Regions from separate parts of the Homo sapiens genome. Here regions 1, 2, 4 and 5 are each linked to region 3. The links are contacts of gene promoters, found by promoter capture Hi-C in blood cells and fetal thymus (Javierre and others, 2016). All regions are on one chromosome and are shown on one strand. Each heading gives the region's core, a stretch centred on a gene start or on the middle of the fragment in contact. The rest is flanking DNA. Distances are from core to core; before and after follow the strand shown.

What was found. Contacts are between HindIII fragments. The CHiCAGO score rates a contact against its expected background, and 5 or more counts as called.
Region 1: a fragment that was not itself captured here is called in contact with the fragment with the promoter of LHX2 in region 3 in 1 of 17 cell types (monocytes); the score reaches 5.7 in monocytes.
Region 2: a contact is called between a fragment that was not itself captured here and the fragment with the promoter of LHX2 in region 3, in 5 of 17 cell types (monocytes, M1 macrophages, megakaryocytes and 2 more). The highest score is 7.6, in monocytes.
Region 4: a fragment that was not itself captured here is called in contact with the fragment with the promoter of LHX2 in region 3 in 2 of 17 cell types (M0 macrophages and M1 macrophages); the score reaches 7.4 in M0 macrophages.
Region 5: a fragment that was not itself captured here is called in contact with the fragment with the promoter of LHX2 in region 3 in 4 of 17 cell types (M0 macrophages, M1 macrophages, M2 macrophages and 1 more); the score reaches 8.3 in M0 macrophages.

Annotation. Positions count from the first base shown.
Region 1 is chr9:123,650,041-123,652,740 of GRCh38, forward strand. It overlaps DENND1A (DENN domain containing 1A), which reads right to left. Exons shown (of 24, transcript NM_001352964.2): 9 at 1,973-2,083. Among named protein-coding and RNA genes, the nearest start is that of MIR7150, 170 kb to the left of the region's middle. The HindIII fragment of the contact is 4,820 bases long and covers 1-2,700 here.
Region 2 is chr9:123,700,009-123,702,708 of GRCh38, forward strand. All of the region lies in intron 5 of DENND1A (DENN domain containing 1A), which reads right to left. Among named protein-coding and RNA genes, the nearest start is that of MIR7150, 220 kb to the left of the region's middle. The HindIII fragment of the contact is 884 bases long and covers 962-1,845 here.
Region 3 is chr9:124,010,505-124,013,204 of GRCh38, forward strand. LHX2 (LIM homeobox 2) reads left to right here and starts at 1,264. Exons shown (of 5, transcript NM_004789.4): 1 at 1,264-1,964. The coding sequence starts at 1,845. RefSeq lists a silencer at 1,188-1,237 and an enhancer at 2,176-2,700. The HindIII fragment of the contact is 7,434 bases long and covers 1-2,700 here.
Region 4 is chr9:123,716,547-123,719,246 of GRCh38, forward strand. The region is part of intron 5 of DENND1A (DENN domain containing 1A); the gene reads right to left. Among named protein-coding and RNA genes, the nearest start is that of DENND1A, 210 kb to the right of the region's middle. The HindIII fragment of the contact is 1,224 bases long and covers 686-1,909 here.
Region 5 is chr9:123,734,008-123,736,707 of GRCh38, forward strand. All of the region lies in intron 5 of DENND1A (DENN domain containing 1A), which reads right to left. Among named protein-coding and RNA genes, the nearest start is that of DENND1A, 190 kb to the right of the region's middle. The HindIII fragment of the contact is 621 bases long and covers 1,084-1,704 here.

The DNA.
Region 1 (2,700 bases), core at 156-2,655, 360 kb before region 3:
TGTTTTTGTTGACTGAAATTTAATAATCTAAAGCAACAGTAACTGGTTATGGACTAGACTCTTTCAAAGAGGTGATGATAGATGTGGTTGACAATATTCTCATTCTGAAACTCAGTCTGGGTGTTTGTGCCCTGAAATTATGAACTGCACGTATGGTGTAAAATAAAATGTAAAACAAAGCAAGAGGTCTACTATAGGCTATTCTTAACACATACTAGGCAATTAAAAAAAACTGAGTTCTTGATGAGCAATCAATAACCAAAGAAATAATAAAATAATGAAGGTATAATAAAAACTGTAAGGAAAACTCTAGTAGTCTCAGAGAGTTTTCATTATTAGGTGCCTTTTATTCATAAGTAAACACATAACTTGATTTTATCCATAGGCCCTTCATTAGGGAACTCTCCACTTATAAAAATATTTTTCTACTCTCTCTAACAGAGGGATGCCTATTAGGCATTCTACTCCCAGTCAATTTCTGTATATAAGTTTTGTCTACAAACAAAAACAACAACAAACTCAGCAAACAGATATTGAATTATTTAGGGGAAAGTAAAGTGACGCCTGTGATTTACTTTGAAATGCATAAAAAATAAGATGGATCACCTGTAATCCCAGCACTTTGGGAGGCTGAGGTGGGTGGATCACTTGAGGTCAAGAGTTCGAGACCAGCCTGGTCAACATGGCAAAACCCCATCTCTACTAAAAATACAAAAATTAGCTGGGTGAGGTGGTATGTGCCTGTAACCCCAACTACTTGGGTGACTGAAGCAAGAGAATTACTTGTACCTGGGAGGTGGAGGTTGCAGTGAGCCGAGATAGTGCCACTGAACTCCAGCCTGGGTGACAGAGTAAGACTCTGTCTCAAAAAAAAAAAAAAAAAAAAAAAAAGATGGATTAATGGATGCTATGGATGATAAATAGTTGAATAAATACATGATAAAGCAACTGATACAATGTCACTAGTAGAATTTAGATGGAAGTATATCAGCATTCACTGTAAAATTATTTCAGCTTTCTATAATGGCTTAAGAATTTTCATAAAAAATATTGGGGAAAATGTGAACTCATACTTAGCAAGTGAAAAACTAAAATAAAAGGAATATAAAAATATTTATATTATACACACAGCAAAAGTTATATAGAAAGTTCATTATAATTAATAAAAAAATCAAGACACCTATAAAATAAATGTGAAAGGATATTAACAAAATACAAATAAAAAAATAAACCCATGGAAAATATTCAGTTACCTCTAACCAAAGAGGTAATTCTAAAATTAAAGCAAGCCTGAAATACCATAGCACATCTACTTTCTTAGCAGAATTAAAACACCTGAGCACATGCACGTACACACGTGCGCACATGCGCGCACACACACACTCTCTCTCTTTCCTGGCAAAGCTGCGGTGAAAATGGTGCACTCATCTACAGCTGGCAGCCTTCACTGTAAACAAGCACCGCCTGTTTGCAAAGCAATTTGGCAGTCCCTAAGTCATAGCGCTTATCAAGCCCTTTGACCTAGTGTCCCACTCCTTAGAATATAACTGTAACAGTCAAAAGAAGCCAAAAGATGTTCATTGCAGTATTATCTACTAAAAGGATTAAATCATAATGAACAACCTAAATGGCCATCAAGAGAAGGATTTAGTAAATAATGACACACCCGTATCATGAAATATGGTGTAGACATTAAAAAATGACAATTGAAGCTCATGTAGAAACCTGCAAAATGTTCATAACACACAATCAAATGGAAAGCTATTTATAATTGACTGTGCGACTACAGGAATAAATGAAATGTGCATTGGCACTGTAAAAAAAAAAAAATGAACAATTAATGAAAATGACATGCTGCCATATAAGGGGACTGTAGCTGACTCCTTTTTCTAAAATTTTCTTTCATCTTGCTGGTGTATCTTTCAATTAAAATTAGATCATTAAAAAGCCAGTCTTAAGACTGTCTACTCACAGTGCTGAGTTTGCTGCAAATGATGAGTATCCGGCGTTCGTACAGCATACTGGCGTACAGATGCAACATGTTGTTAACATCCACAGCCACAAAATATTCTGTCAGATTTCTCTAGGAGAAAGAAGAAGGCACGGTTTGTGGCTGATTTTCTTTGTTCTTATTATAACTGTATCTAATAAGAGCATAAGAAACATAAAATAATCAGAAAGTATACTCTGTTCTTTCCCTGTCCTTTTCTTTCTACCTGGGAGGCCAAATCCCCACATGTGTAAAATCATGAAGGGTAAAGTTGGAAGACACCTTACAGAGGAAGGAGCCTGAGCAATTACATCTTTGTGTGGTGATTACAACATGAGGTCGCATCCAGCACTTAGGTCAGTTCCTAAAGGTGAGCAGAACAGGAATTCTACATATCTTACAAATGAGGAAACCAAGACTCAAAGAGATTCTCCAAGATGGAACAGTCTAATAAGCAATGAAGACAGGACTGCTGCTCAAATCTTTGGGCCCCAGATCCTAGAACCTTCCCGATGTGCTGTGCCATACGCCTAAGCAAAAGAAAGTACCCAGGGACCAAAATGCTTCTGGCACTGAGCCTGTTTCTGTGCAGGAGATGCCACCCACGAAGGCCAGGCGAGCTCCTCTCCCGTCATCACTGCTGGTATCCCCTCCTTCACAGTTTACATTTGCTAAAACGGCTCAGCTGGAATTAAGGCAATTTCGAACAT
Region 2 (2,700 bases), core at 154-2,653, 310 kb before region 3:
TTTTTAACAGACTACCCTTTGAATTACCTTGGCACCTTTCTAAAAAATATATCTAGATATCAGTTGATTCTCTATTCTGTTCTACTAATCCGTATGGTCTACCCTTGTGCCAATACCACAATGTCTCAATTACTGTAGCTCTACAATAAAACTGGAGATCAGGTAATATGTGTCCTCCAACTTTATTCTTCTTTTAAAAAGTTATTTTGCCTAAGTTCTTTGCCACAAAAATCTTCATACAGATTTTAGAATCAGCTTGCCCAATTCTGAAGGAAAAAAAGGCCTGGTGGTATTATTGCATTGACTCTATAGATCAATTTGGGGAGAACTGACATCTGTATCAGTAACAGTCCTCCAGAGAAACAGAATAGACTATTGTATGCATGCGTGTGTGTGTGTATAAAGAGATTTATGTTAAGTAACTGGTTGAGGCAAGTTTGAAATCTATAGGACAGGCCAGTGGGCTGGAAACTCAGGTAACAACTGATGTTGCAGTCCTGAGTCCAAAATTTGTAGGGCAGGCCAGCAAGCTGGGAACTCAGGAAGGATTTTTAAATTACAGTCTTGAAGCAGAATTCCTTCTTCTCTGGAAAACCTCAGTTTCTGCTCTGAAGGCTTTAAACTGATTGGATGAGGACCACCAACATTATGGAGGGTGATCTCCTTTACTAAAAGTCAATGATTATAAATGTTAGTTAGATTTAAAATACCTTCACAGTACCATCTATACTAGTGTTTGACCAAATAATTAGGTACCATAGCCTAGACAAGCTGACACACAAGATTAACCATCATAACATCTTGACAACATGGAATCCTTGAATCCATCAGCCTGGTATATCTATTTAGATCTTTTTAAAAAAATGTATCTCAGCAATGTTTTGTATTTTCAGTGCACAGGTCAGGCAAATATTTTGTTCAATGTATCCCTTGGTATTTCATATTTTGATGCTATTATAAAAGCTTCTGTTTTATTAATTTGAACTTACAATTTTAATACCAATTTCCTTACCTCACACTACATACAAAAATTTATAGAAATGGACTGAAGACCTAAGTATAAGAGATAAACCTACAAAATGTCTATAAGACAATATAGGGGAAAATCTCTGTGCTCTTAAGTTATGCAGAGATTTCACAGAACACAAAAAGCATGAACTCAGAAGTAAAAATTGATAGAAGGTAGAGCAAAATGGCAGAAATGAACTCTCCAGGGATTATCCCCACACAGAAACATCAATTTAAACAGTTCAAAATACCCTCACAAGAGCTAAAGAAACCATGTAACAGATCATAGTGCCTGGTTATAGCACAATAATAAGAAAGACACATCAAAGAGGGTAGAAAGGACAATTTTGCATTACCCATGTCATCCCTCCCCTTACCTCAGGCAGTGGAAAGAGATATCATCTGCCTGGGGGAAAGAGAAATAAGTCTAAGACTTTGTCTAGGTCCCCAATACTGAGCCTGCCACCATAAAACCCAGCATCAGGCAGACCTCTAGGGCCTCTAACTCCAGGCCGACACCTGTGAACTGAGCTTCTAGACCCACCCCAGCACCAGAGACCTGCAGCCCCTATAACACAGATTTGAGTTCTGGCCTGCATCACTGCCAGCTGACTACAGTGGCCTTAGGCTATGAATAACCCACAGCAACAGGCAGGCTCTCAGCAGCCAAGAGCTTCAGGTATATCCCAGTGCTGTACCAGCCTTGGTAGCCATGGGCTTAGCATGCTAAGCTACCACAGCTACAGCAATCTGAGGATTAGGGACCAGACCAGACAACCTGCCTAGAAACTCTGAACAGGCTTACTTTTGAAGGAGGTTCCAAAACAAAGCCACAAAAGCTTACAAAGACTGGAATAAGTACCTACTTCTTCAATGTACAGAAGGTCAATGCATGACTACAAGGATCAGGGAAACACGTTGTCACTAAACAGACAAAATGAGGTACTAGTGACTGACCATAAAGAGACAAAGATGTATGTACTGCCTGATAGAGAATCCAAAATAGCTATTTTAAAGGTGCTCAATAAACAATTCAATGAAATGAGAAACATAATAAGTGACCAGAATTAGAAATTTAACAGAGCCTAAAATAATTTTTAAAAACATTTTTCAGGAGTTGAAAAATACAAAAATAAATAAATAAATAAAAACGCAATAGAGAAAATCAATAGCAGACCTGATTAAGCAGAAGGAAAAAAATCTGTGAAGTCAAAGACAGGTTATTTGAAAATATACAATCAGAGGATAAAAAAGGAAAAAAAAGGAACGAAGAAAGCTTATGAGATTTACGGAATGGCATCAAAAGAGCAAATGTATGAGTTGCTGGTATTCAAGAAGGGGTAGAGAAAGATAAAGAGGTAGGAAAGCTTATTTAAATAAATAATAGCAAAAAATATACCAAACCTACAGAAAGATACAAATATCCAGGTACAGAAAGGTCAAAAGCCTCCAATCAGATTCAATTCAAATAAGACTACCCCAAGATAGAATCTAATCAAACTGTCAAAGATCAAAGACAAAGAGAAAATCCTGAAAGCAGCAAGACAAAAGAAGCAAATAATATATAAGAGAGTTCCAAGACACCCAGCAGCAAACTTCTGAGAATAAACATTATAAGCCAGGAAAGACTGCGATGATATATTTATAGTGCTGAAGGAAAAATACTGTCAACCAAGAATACTGTACCCAGCA
Region 3 (2,700 bases), core at 14-2,513:
GGGGGTAGCAGTTGGGATTTACCCAGCACGCTACTTTGTTGGCCCCTGGGGAGGTGGTGCAGCCAGGCGGGTAAGGAGGACTCGCGCCATCAGCGGGGTCTGAGACATGGTGTGCCCAGTGGGCAGAGAATAGGCCTGTGGTTTTTAAGAACCTCACTGATATCGAATGTGTCTTGGAGTGAGAAAGTTTTTAATGGAAAAGGAGCAAGAGAGAGTAATGAAATAATTTGCTAAGTGCCTACTATGTTCCAGGCATTTTACATCCACAGTCTCTTTCAATCAACACGTCCATGCGGAGGAGAGCTTCTTGTCGCCCATTATAAAGGTCAGAAACAGGCTAAGGGAGGATAAGTCACTGCCTAAGGTTACAGTGCATGTAAATGGCAGAGCTAGGATTCGAACCCTGGCCTTTCTGAGTTCCTAAAGCCATGCTCGCCCCCACTCTTCCAGGCTGGGGAGAGACCGGGAAGAGCGAGAAGCTACACGCTGGGCTGCAGATTGGGCCCTAGCGGGCTTGGAGCGTGGATATGCTGGCTGGCCCCCCTCCCCGGGAGTCACAGCTCTCGCCGGTCTCGCCACTCAGGCTCTGCCGGGTACCCAGGAGGCTTGCACGGCCGCCTGCAGCCCGCTGTGCAGAGCCCGGGCCGAAGGCGGAGCTCGATGGGAAACGGCCGGCCGAAGGCTCTTGCAACTCTGCCACAGGCCTGCCTTCCCGGGCCTCCCAGGCGGGTGCCTGAGGCCGCGGCTCCAGGCCGAGGGGAGACCGCAGTGAGACGAGCATCCCCTTGCTGCGCCTTCTTAGGATAGAGGGTTTAATTTTCCTTTCTGAAGATATCGCAGGAAGCTGTTCGTATCTTAAAAACTCCAAACCCCGCGCTCTCCCTCCTCCCTGCCTCCCCCCCACCCCCGCCCTCCAGCCTCGCCCACCAGCTCCCACCATCTCGACTCTCCTCTGCTCCTCTTGCCTCTCCCCTCCCTCTTGGGTCTCCCGCCTTCCCGGAGCACGCGCTGCCAGGGCCTGGGGCGCCGAGCGGCCAATGGCACGGCGGCAGGACGTGATGTCAGGCGCGGCTGTAGAAAAGGCGCGGAGGCTTGCGCTGGCGCGGACTGCAGAGCCGGGGCTGGGCTAGGCGCGCGCTTGGAGAGCATTGCGCGCGGCTGGGCCCGCGGCCGGCGGCTCCTCCTCCCACTCTGCTCCTCCTCTTTTTTCTCCTCCTCCACCTCCTCCTCCGCCTCCTCCTCCTCCTCTTCCTCCTCCTCTTCAATTCTCCCGGTGGCTCGACTCGGCTCGCAGGCTTCGGAGAAACCCCTACTCCAGTCGCCGACTCAGCGCCCAAGAGGGTCGCCTTGGGCTGGGGGCGCACCCCAGGGAGGGGAGGGGTCCAGGCAGCTGGGCCGCCGCGGACACCTAGCGGCTTCAGGGTGAACCCCGACCGCAGCCGTCGCCGCCTCGGGCAGAGTTTGCGCCCTTGCTTTGCGCCCCGGGCGCTGAAGCCGGGCGGGCGATGCCCGCGGCGTGAAAGCGCCCGCGGCGGGCGCCGACCTCTGTCCTAGTCTCCTGCTCCCCCCGCCCCGCTTGTCCCGTGCCCTTGTGACCCTGGCTTTGGCGCCGTCGCCCAGGCGCCCCGCAATGTAGCTGCCCCTGCGCCTCGGCGGGAGGCGTCCTGCCCCGCGAGCGCCCGGGGCCCGGAGCCCGGCCTGGGGGCTCAGCCGAGCTCGGGCGGGGCCGGGGCCGCGGTGGCGATGCACCGGGCCCGTTAGCGCCAGGAGCGCCAGGCAGCTGAGGCGGGGGGCAAGCCCTCCCTCGGAGGAGCCGCGCCCCCGGCCCCGCCGGTCCCGCCGCGATGCTGTTCCACAGTCTGTCGGGCCCCGAGGTGCACGGGGTCATCGACGAGATGGACCGCAGGGCCAAGAGCGAGGCTCCCGCCATCAGCTCCGCCATCGACCGCGGCGACACCGAGACGGTAGGCGCGCGGCTGTGGGGTCGGGGCTGAGAGCTGGGATGGGGCCGGGCCAGTCAGCGCCTCTGCTCCCCGAAGTTTGGGGAGCGTCCTTCGTGCCGCACGGGACTGGGTGCTGGGGATCCTCGGTCAGAATGCAAGGCCGGTGGCTCCCGGTTCGGGGGAAACCCGGCTGCTGGGACGCAGAAGGGAAACAAGGTTGAAACCGAAATCTCGGCCCTGGGGGTAGAGGAGAGCGTTTCTTCCGAACTGGAAGCGAAGTCCCATCCGCGGCCCGGGGCGGCTCCCTTCTCACCTTGCCCGGTGCCGGGGTCGACAGCCCCGCGCTCTCCTCCACCTCTCGGCTCCGGTTGCTGGCGGCGCCGCGAGCGGCGCCAGGGAAGGGCGAACCAGCTGGGAGCATTGGGGCTCCAGCCGGCTTGGGCCGCTCCCAGCTTTCCGGCAATCGGGGATCCTCCTCAACCCCCAGCGCAGTTTCAGAGGCCGAAGTCTTCGGGGCCAACATTTGTCGTTGATCGCGTCCCCAGACCCTTGACTGGTCAGACTTAGCCAGGCCAGGGCTGGGAGTTCAGGCTCCGGCCTGGCCCTCGCCGAAGGAGACTCCATTTGGATCTCTACACCTGGCTCCGCGGGCCCAGCCCCAAATAGCCAGTTCCTCGCCTCAGGCCTCCCTGGGGGCCAGACGAGCAGACACTGCCCGACCAGCGGGCCCAGAAGTGACCTTTAGGAGGCCGCGGAG
Region 4 (2,700 bases), core at 48-2,547, 290 kb before region 3:
ACTAATAATCAGGAAACCTACATGACAAGACATCCATTAAAGACAACTACTAATAAAATAAAACTAAATATCAAATCGGATCATGGTACGGCTGGCTCCTGGGTTATAATTTAAGCTTGCAAAAAGTACAAACGAATGCAGTGGAGGTACTGCTCTGAAGAACAAAATTAATTGCCTTTGTGACTTCTCCTAACTCACAAAACTCCTTCAGGGAAGTTACTGCTTTTTTAACAAACAGTAGCCACTTTAAATCCCAGATGCTGTGAGTATCACGTACATGCTTGACGGGGCAGAGGCAAGGGGAGTAAATTTTTATTTAAACTCCTCAATAAACAATGCCAACATTTTTAGCAGGGCCCACCTTACTATAACCACATGAACCGTTAAGTGCAAATGACTAATCTAGTTTTTAAGTTTGATACTAATAACTTGGACTAGTTAATTGTGGTTACTTTTTACTTTTCCTTTTGCCTTCTAAAGTTACCACCCAAAATATACTGAGAAATAGTAAATACATAGTCACACCGCGCCTAGGAAACTTAGCAGTATTACATATAAAATTTATTTGAGAGACCCGGTGGCCAGGCAACCCAGATACTACTATCAGATCTGGTCAGATAGTTGGCAAGTGACAGCCTCTCTGGGCGTCATTAGTAAACTGAGGGACAAAGAGGATCTGACACTAAGCTTGACTGTAAAATCATGAGAGTGGAGAGGTTCTTGATCACCACTGCAGTCCTGTTTGTTGAAAGAATGAATGGGGTCTATACCATGGGCCATGCCTTAACTAGGAGATACGTATAATGTATGTGACTCATTTAATCCTTATAACAATACTCTGAAGGGGAATGATTATCCCCACTTTACAGATAAGGAAAGAGAGATAAAAAAGAAAGGCAACTGTACAAGATTACACAGTTACTGGGTAGAGTAAGGATTCCAACCTAGGTTTGTCTGATGCCAAAACCTAACGTACTTCCTGTTTTCTTCCACTAAGAGAAAAATTAATATTTCTGAGAAATGGAATTATTCTAATTATACTACACAAGTCTCAAATCATTTTAGCTCATTATAGAAAAGAGGATATACCTCCAGTTTAAATTCCTAAGCCCTATTTTAATGTAAGGCTTTTATATCTTGTTCACATTTATGTAACCTAGTGGGCAGAGCATCATAGGAGCCCTTGACAGTCTCCCAGAGGTTGCCCTGTGTCCACTGCATTTCCTCACAGACTTTGCCAGAGTACACAGTTTGTTCCCTACCACTCTAATCAGTTGCTGAAATGCTAAACAGTGTGTAGTTGGAATAGCCCCCTATCCCTCCAGCATGCATGGTCCAAATTTTTGCAAAGGAGCTACAAAGGCAATTTTGGAAACATACAACTCTTAACAACTCTCCCATCTGGTTTTCACACCACCTCCTTCCTCCATAAGCCCACAGAAGTCACAGTCAGCTCCTGTTTTCTGGGAAACTAGCTGTCTTTTCATCTTGCTGGGTGTATGTTATGTCTGTCTGTCAGCAAATTGGGAAATGGCCTCCATCCTGACAGATACATTTTGTAAAGCCTTAAAAGCACATACACTAATGTGAAGAAAAAAAGAACTTTTTCTATTTTGGACTCTGGCTATTTGCTCTTTATAGCTGAAGTGTCAAGGGAATGGGATTTCCCAGGTAGACGTACTAATGTAAAATGCATTAGTGTTAAGGTGGGGGCTCCCAATCCACCCAGGGCCAAAGGGTTAATACAAAATGACAGAATTTAATGACTGCTATTATGGTTGCCAAGCAACCAAAAGAAGGTGTGCCATAAAGGCCTAATTAATGAATGAGGTAGCAAGAGTTTCTGTTAAGTTGGTAAGCAGTTCACAGTTCACCATTGCCTAGCTTTGCCCAGATGGTAATACTCTTAAGCTTTCTTAGCTCCACTGAGCAGCAGCAAAATAATGTGATTATAGTTGCAGCTCTGGCTAAAGTTCTGACATCCTTTCCATACTCAGTGAAATTTCTTAAGTCAGTTGAAACAACAGCCTCCTGTAGATTCACAGTGAGGATTGTATGCTTGCATTTTGTTACTCATATGAGATCCAGGTCCAGAAGAACACTGGAACGATTCTCTTCTGGACTCTCTTGGCTGCAGGAACATTAAGACTCATCAAAATTTGGGACTCAAACTGAACTGCCATTGGAACTACAGACTCTGTTGGGACAATGTTCTTTTCAAAGGCAAGCCCAGACAACAGTAACAAAGGACTACACCCAGAGTGTCCACAACTTGCTAAGCTCTGTACAAGTGGTAATATGGTTTGGCTGTGTCCTCACCCAAATCTCATTTTGAAATGTAGCTCCCATAATTCCCACATGTTGTGGGATGGACCCGGTGGGAGATAACTGAATCACAGGGGCAGTTTCCCCCATACTGTTCTCGTGGTAGTGAATAAGTCTCACGAGATCTGACAGTTTTATAAGGGGAAACCCCTTTTGCTTGGTTCTCATTCTCTCTCTTGCCTGCCGCCATGTAAGAAGTGCCTTTGACCTTCCACCATGATTGTGAGGCCTCCCCAGGCATGAGGAACTGTGAGTCCATTAAACCTCTTTTTCTTTAAAAATTACCCAGTCTCAGGTATGTCCTTATAGGCAGTGTGAAAATAGACTAACACAGTGGTTAACGTTATCCCAAGTTTTCGTAGCCCTGTAAGGTAG
Region 5 (2,700 bases), core at 144-2,643, 280 kb before region 3:
GGCTAGAGTACAGAGAGGCACATAGTTCATAGTTCACTGTAGCCTCGAACTCCTGGACTCAAGTGATCCTCCCACCTCAGTCTCCCAAGTAGCTGAGACTACAGATGTCTGCCACCAAGCCCAGGTAACATTTTTATTTTTTTATGTAGAGGCAGAGTCATTATTAAGTTTTTATTCATATTTTAGCAAGATAAGTTATGGAAATACAGGATGTTACATTCACCCCAAAAGGAGAACTACTTTAAGATTATGTGATACCCTGAAACCAACAGAAGTCACCTATTCAGAGGAAATTGCCTGTTTAAAATACACAGATGACTACTCATTTACATAATAATTTAACTTTCTTTATCAGAGTTCAATATTGCAACTAATTGTTTAATTATATGTCTGCCTTCAGATCCTGGGCCATGTGAAAGTGGGGAAAGTGCATGTCTCGGGGATCACTGCATCCTCAGTGTCTGCAGTGGAGTATAGGACACCTACAGACACCAAATAACAATACACGTTTCCTTAGCCTAAGTCAAATAAGGCACCAAGTTTGGGATGGGGGCAAGACAAAAGAATGGGAGGAACATGGACTTCAGAGTCAAACAGAGCTAGGTTCAAATACTGACAATATCAGCTAATAATGATTCTCTAAGGTTCCTTTTCCTCTTCTGTAAGACGAGGATAATTCTTCCTCTGCGGGACTGCTGTGAAGAGTGGAGGAGAGAATGCACGTGAATGTTCAGGGCACTTGGTTCTAGACATATGATGGGTGTGTATTACAGCAAGTTTCTGCCTCATCCTCTCACATGAGCACATCCCAAGAGAGGGCTTGGGAAAATAATTTTTTTTATTTTTTAAAAAAAGCCGTGTTAGCTTTCAAGTTGTCACTAGGTAAAACTTGTGTAGGAACCAGTTACTACTACCAGGCAGCATCATACGTTATGATTTGATCCTCGCTACAATCCTCCAAGGACTTATGATTGCTCTCATTACGTAGATGGAGAAGGAGAAGCCAGAAAAGTTGGAGATGCTCATGGAGATGTTGCTGGGAAAAGAGGAGATGGGATTTGAACCTTCTGAGTTTATATTCTAAGCTTTTCTCCCCCCAAGAAAATCAAGGAAGATATCAAAGGGCACATCTATCTAAAGGCTCAGTGAACTTCCCAATATTAACCAGGTGATAAAAATTAAAATACCCCTATTTCCACTATGACCATTTCTAGATGTTCTAAACCAGCTCATCCAGGAAGGAACGAGTTCATGGAGTCCCCACTATATATCAGACACTCTGCTGAATAATTTGTACACTCTCTCTCTCTCGCAACCCTTTGAGGTGAGTCCTTATCTCTGAATGTCAAAGATGACAAAAATAAGTTGCAAGATGTTAGGTAAGAAGATCATAAGTGGGCAAGAGCTGGTAAGCAAATGCAAACCCCTCTGACTCCACAGCTCACACTCTCTGCACTCACTTGCAGAGACTTCCCGATGCTCCCATGATCTCTGAAGTCCTAGTCAAAAAAGCCAGCATCATGATTTCCTCAGGTCGTCCGTGACACATACCACACTCAGTATTTGCCTGATATTCTAGAAATTGTCCTCTCATGAGTAACAAAACAGTAAGTGGTGAGATGTTTCCTTTTTTAAAAGTTTTTATTGTTAATCAAGAATTCTGAATTCCCAAAACAACAGTCACCTTTTAGAAAAAAATACTGAAGCTTGGCTGGGCGTGGTGGCTCACACCTATAATCCCAGCACTTTGGGAGGCCAAGATGGGTGGATCACTTGAAGTCAGGAGTTCAAGACCAGCCTGGCCAACATGGTGAAACCCTGTCTCTTCCAAAAATACAAAAATTAGCCGGGCATGATGGTGTACACCTGTAGTCCCAGCTACTCGGGAGGCTGTGGTGGGAGAATTGCTTGAACCTGGGAGGCAGAGGTTGCAGTGAGCCGAGATTGTGCCACTGCCACTGCACTCCATCCTGGGTGACAGAGTAAGGCCCTGTCTCCAAAAAAAGAAAAAAGAAAAATCACTGAAGCTAGCTAGTTAGACTGCACCTTCTCTACCAATGTACTCATAGCTGGATAAGTAGTTCTAATGAGAACTAAAAATCCTTATAGTAACTATACACACCAATAGCAGTTTTGTCTTTATCAAGGCTAAAGGTACAAATAAACAAAAGAAGGTCTTCAAGTCAGTGTATGAGAACACATGACCTGTAAGAGCTATGTTGTAAGCTCAGAAGGGCTAATGTTATCATTTCCATTTTCTGGAAGGAGAGAAGCCCAGAATCATACCCAAAGTCAGAGTCCAACAGGCTCCGGGCGGAGTCTAGATTGAGGGTCTCTCTGCCAACTTAGTGGTTCTTTCCTTACTACATCAGAATTCCAGGCCAGGTCATGCTATGATGTCACAAGGAAAAAGTCCCTTGCCCTGTGTCTTAGCTTCCTCAGGAGAGCTGTTAGGGAAGGTAAGAGAACAGCATAGAGTCACTGTTCCTATATTTTAAGGAATAAATGAGGCCTCATATTTAATGTCCTATCTAAAAGTGATGACAATGCTGATAATAAGATACAATTACATTTTTTTTAGAAATACTGCCATGCATTAGCAAGACTGCACTAAAACTTCTGTAATCCCTCTGATCATGCATCTCAAACACATTCATGGGAATAAGAAAACAATTGTCAAAAAAATGAATTATGGCAATA